2 separate regions of the Homo sapiens genome follow, and region 2 is linked to region 1. Evidence: promoter capture Hi-C in 16 types of primary human blood cells and fetal thymus (Javierre and others, 2016). All regions are on one chromosome and are shown on one strand. Each heading gives the region's core, a stretch centred on a gene start or on the middle of the fragment in contact. The rest is flanking DNA. Distances are from core to core; before and after follow the strand shown. Region 1 holds the start of RANBP9 (RAN binding protein 9). Region 2 overlaps PHACTR1 (phosphatase and actin regulator 1).

The links. The method cuts DNA at HindIII sites, captures the fragments that hold promoters and counts their contacts. A CHiCAGO score of 5 or more calls a contact.
Region 2: a contact is called between a fragment that was not itself captured here and the fragment with the promoter of RANBP9 in region 1, in 1 of 17 cell types (monocytes). The highest score is 5.3, in monocytes.

The regions. Positions count from the first base shown.
Region 1 is chr6:13,710,543-13,713,116 of GRCh38, forward strand. RANBP9 (RAN binding protein 9) reads right to left here and starts at 1,293. Exons shown (of 14, transcript NM_005493.3): 1 at 393-1,293. The coding sequence starts at 963. It overlaps LOC124901264 (a long non-coding RNA gene), which reads right to left and starts at 2,212. Exons shown (of 2, transcript XR_007059462.1): 1 at 2,141-2,212; 2 at 1,810-1,999. RefSeq lists silencers at 238-357, 618-667, 748-867, 1,028-1,797. The HindIII fragment of the contact is 8,985 bases long and covers 1-2,574 here.
Region 2 is chr6:12,945,203-12,947,776 of GRCh38, forward strand. All of the region lies in intron 4 of PHACTR1 (phosphatase and actin regulator 1), which reads left to right. Among named protein-coding and RNA genes, the nearest start is that of PHACTR1, 230 kb to the left of the region's middle. The HindIII fragment of the contact is 4,385 bases long and covers 1-2,574 here.

The sequences.
Region 1 (2,574 bases), core at 43-2,542:
GACCCACCACCTGGAGAACAATGTAACCCAACTCCGAGTCCATGGATTCCTCTACCCAAGCCCCAAGATTTATCTCCCAGGGAAATCAGAAAGCCAGTTCTGTCCTGTCATCCCGGATTCCCTCAAGGTGTCCTGCTCCTGGTCTAGGATTACCAGCTCCTTTCTACCCTGGGGCATTCTACTCACCTTCCTTTTCCAAGAATCTCGCCCCTCACCCTCGGACCCTTCACCGCGACCCCCGCGCCCACCCGGAGCAGCACAACAGGCGGCGAGTGGCCTCCGAGGGCAGAGCCCGCGAGGGCGGGGGTCGGGGGCGGGTCGAGAGCGGCGCAGCGGCGGCCGGCCACGTCGGGTCAGTGCCCCACTCCCACCGCAGGACACACGCCCAGTACCTTTGTAGTGCACCCGCAGGTTGTTCTGAGAGAGGCCGATGTAGCTGAACTTGTCCTTCGGGCTCCAGGACCGAGGCAGCGGCGTCTCTTGTTCGTCCACGGCCGGGTAGAGACGCTTCAGCCGCCGCTGCAACTCCTTCTCCTGCTCGTTCAGGGCCGAGTCCCCGTGAGGGAAGGGGGCCGCGGCGCTGCTGCCCGCCACCAGAGCTGGGGTCGGGGCTCCTCCAGCCGGGCCGGGGCCCGCTGCAAGGCCCGGGGGAGCGGGCGGCCCGCTGGCGGGGGCAGCCGCTGAGGCAGGGGGAGGCGGGGGCGGCGGCGGGGGCGGCGGGGCCGCGGTGGCCGGGGGCGGCGGCGGCGGAGGGTGGAGGAGCAGGGCGGCCGCCGCGGCCCCTAAGCCTTCGCCGCCCGCACCGCCGCCGGGCGAGCCGGCCGGAGAAGAGCCGGCGCTGACGGCCGGGGGCGCCGGCAGGACGACTCCGGAGACTGGGGCCAAGGCCGCCGGCGGTGGCGGCGACAGCTGCTGCTGCTGTTGCTGCTGCTGCGGCGGCGGCGGCGGCGGCTGCCCGGACATCCCGGCCGCGACTCAGCCTGCGGCCACCTCCACCTCTTCTCTCCTTCCTCCTCTGCTTCCCGGGGGCGCTGTCGCTGCGGCCGCCGGCACCAGGCGCCCAGTCCGCCCGCCCCGGAAGCAGGCGGCGGGCCGCGCGCCCAGGGAGACCGCGGCGGTTGAGGAGCTCGGAGACGCGGGAGTAGGCGGCGGGCCCGGGAGGCCGGGAGAGAACGTTGGCCGGAGCGCGGGCGCGCGGCCCGGGGACGAGGCGCCGAGGGCGGGGGCGACGCGGGAGCGCGGGAGGGGAAGGCGCGCTGGCGGCCGCCGCGGCCGCTGCTCTCGCGGCTGTTTCCCGGCGGGCGGGCCGGGCCGGCGCGAGACGCTGCGCGCGGGCGGCGCTAGGCGAGGGGGCGGGACGGAGGCGCGAGAGAGGCGCGAGCGGTGCGAGGGGGCGGGCCGCGGGGCTCCCGGCTGTGCGCCGCGAGGCGTCCTCCCGGGCCCGCCAGTCGCTCGTGGGCAGGATCGCTGGGCTCCCGGCGCCGCAGGTCCCTTCGGAGGTGTCCGCCTCCTCTCCCTTGGCGGCCGCCGTCGCCCCCCTCGCCGGCGAATCCCCTCCCACTTGACTTCTTTTTGTTGTCGTCGCCCCACCTCCCCACCGTAGGGCTCCTCGGAGCCGAGGCGCCGCTTCTCGTCCAGGCGAGAGTAATCGAGCCCCGCTGGGGCCGCCGCGAGCCCAGGCCCCGGGGCGCTCTAGGACCCGTCGGCCCGGGGCGTGCGGAGCGGCTCAGGCTCCCCGCGCAGTGCTGCTAGCTCTCGCCTCAGTCCCGTTCCCGTTTGCCGCCTCCCTCCAAAGAGGAACGCATTGCCTTTGGTACTTCAGTGTTTAATTCCGTAGCATTGACCATATGGGCAGTAGAAACCACTTCTGAAGGCAGTCTCCCACTTAGAATAGTGACTGTTTCATTAATTAATTTTACGAGGACTCACAGTGAACTTAACAGTGGTAGAAGATGTCATTAATAAAGACCGGCATATCTTCAAAAAGCAGGAGCAGGCACTGTATGAATACAAGATTATAGTGTGTGTTTAGGAAGGGCTTCTAGAGACGTCAGAACATTTTATAGACTCGTTAATTTTCATAACAGGGTTCTTAGGTAACAGAAAATTATGCCCATTTTTAAAACAAGGAAATATTTACCGAGATCAGCAGAGTCAAAAATAGGACTTCCTACTTTGCAATTCCCAATAGAATGCTTCGTCGACTAATTTGGCACAACTTGCCAAGTGTTGCTCTCTGACCCATCATAACATTACTACTTTGTTTTCACCACTTCCCTTTGTTTAGCTTATCCCTCCCTAGCTGGCAAAATCAGGCTTTGCATATGTAAATTGTGTGATGTAAATTCTGATATTTTGTTTGCTTCCAAAGATATGATGGTAATCATTTGGTCAAATAAGAAATGTTTTGCCGAAGAGAAAATTATTTCGTTTTGAAGAAGGTAGGCCAAAGGTGATTTAATTTAAGGCCAAGATTATCTGGCCAGAACAAATAACAGAGTCATTCGGCCTAATTTCTCCCTCAGTTACCCAGACAACTAGATGTTCTGTTGTACTTTTATTATTATTATTATT
Region 2 (2,574 bases), core at 25-2,524, 770 kb before region 1:
TTAGGTCCCCATATAAAACCACTTCCTCCAGAAAGCCCTCCCTAATCACTCCCCCAGATTCATTGTCTTTCTGCTATGCGCTGCCACAACTGTCTCTGTTTCCCCTATGATAGCTCTTACTGCATTTTGTGGTTATTGCATGTTTACTTATCCACTGTTCAGTCAAAACTGTAAGTTTCATGAAAGCAGGAATTATGTTCATCTTGCTGTCGAGAATATTTTCTCAGTACATTCTCCAGTGCCTGGCATGGTGCTAAATAAATATTTTCCAAGTCCATGAATAAGGACAGATGAAATAAAATGTGAATGAGTGAAGAAGATTTGAATAAATCAGGGATTCCCAGTGTACGGTCATTAAATGCTAATTCTTACGGGTTTCTAGAAAAAGAGGAATCTGGTGTTTAGGAAACACTGGGTAGCAAAGCCAACCTGATTTACCTGCTGCAGGACTTCTCAGAGCATTTTAAATGCTGAAGTTCAGCTGGGTACAGTGGCTCATGACTGTAATCCCAGCATTTTGGGAGGCGGAGGCAGGCAGATCACCTGAGGTCAGGAGTTCGAGACCAGCCGAGCCAACATGACAAAACCCCAACTTTACTAAAAATACAAAAATTACCCAGGCGTAGTGGTGGGTGCCTGGAGTCCCAGCTACTCAGGAGGTTGAGGCAGGAGAACTGCTTGAACCCAGGAGGTGGAGGTTGCAGTGGCCAAGATCGTGCCACCGCACTCCAGCCTGGGTAACAGAGCAAGACTCTGTCTCAAAAATAAATAAATAAATAAATAAATAAATAAATAAATGCTAAAGTTCATGAAACCTCCAAGGCGGGGGTGGAAGTGGATCTAGTATACAGTATTACACCAGATTACCAGATTTCTTTTCTTCAGTAGACATCTCACAAGACCAGTATTCTGAGGAGCATATATTGGGAAATGCCACAAAAGATAAAGAATAAAGAAATGCCTTGTCCAGTGAGAAGGTGGGTAGGGAAAGATGAAAAGTGTGTAGAATACTAAGTAGACTATAATAGCAGAAAATGTGGCATCAGGGAGGGATGGAGTGAAAAATGAGCAGGAATGTAGTGAAGGAAGTTGGGTGCCATGCTAAACAACTTGAACATTATGCTGTCAAGGGAGTGATATTAACCTTTGAGAAAGGGTGTCATGTACTAACCTGGTTTTAGGAAGCCAATTCTGGTGGCGGTGTGAAAAACAAAGCTCCGAGATATGAGCGATTTGCAAATGGGAAACCAGTTAGATTATTGCAGAAGACCTGGTAAGAGAGGGTAAGGATGTGAATTGGGAAAATTGCAAGTGGTGTAGAAGAGAAGGCTCTAGAAAAATAGATTAAAAGATCAGAAGTGAGATCATCCAGGGAAAAGTAAGGCCAAAAAATGGCTTGAGAGAGAACTCAACATTTAAGAAGCAGATAAATGGAGAAAAAGCAAAGAAATAAGAAGTACAGTTGAAGCAAACAAATGAAAAAGTAGCTTAGAGTAAGTGGTATTGCAGAAAGAGAGAAAAGAATTGCAGTGTGGTGTCCAATATGGTAGAGGGCTCAGAGTCAAAAGAAGCATTACACATACAGTGCAATGATGGTGCTGGATTTTTTTTTTTTTTTTTTTTTTTTTGAGATGGAGTCTTGCTCTGTCGCTCAGGCTGGAGTGCAGTGGCACAATCTCGGCTCACTGCAACCTCCACCTCCCCGGTCCAAGCAATTCTCCTGCCTCAGCCTCCTAAGTAGATGGGATTAAAGGCACCCACCACCACGGCTGACTAATTTTTGTATTTTTAGTAGAGATGGGGTTTCACCATGTTGGTCAGCCTGGTCTCAAACTCCTGATGTCGTGATCCACCCGCCTCGGCCTCCGAAAGTGCTGGGATTACAGGCGTGAGGTATGCCCGGCCGATGGTGCTGGATTTTTAGTGGAGGTCCCCTAGATCATTAATATAATTTTGTAACATTCCAACTTCTAGATTAAAAAAAGGAATACCCATAAATTACCACGTGGCAAGCCAAGTTCTTTCTGCTAGATGCTTACTATGCCTCTTTCTACTGCACTGTTGAGACAGGATGGTCTGCATAACCCAGCACTTTATCTGGCTTCCCAAGTATAACCTGAAGAAACATAACTATTCTGCTTTTTTTTTTTTTTTCTGTGATGACAACAGTTGCCTCATGATTTTCACATCAGTTAATGTAGAGGGAAGTGGTTTACTGCAGAGGGTTCAATGAGAAATAAAGAAGACATGGGAAAAACATCTGAAAAAACAACATTCTTATTTTTGAATGGATGATGAATTAGTGACTTGGGAGGAAAAAACTAAATCAAAAGTAGTGAGACTTTAAGGAAATATTTAGAACATTTCTTTGAAAGCATAAATGTGGGAGCCAGACGCTCCTGGGTTTGCATCCTGACTCTAGTGGCTATAAATTATATGACCTTTGGGGAAAGAAATGGTAGATCTTGCCAGGGGCTGTGGTAAGCAGTAGACTTCCGTGAATTATTTAATCCTCACAATCACCCTAAGGAAAAGTGAGGCTCAGAAAGGTCTAAACAATTTAAATACGTAGTA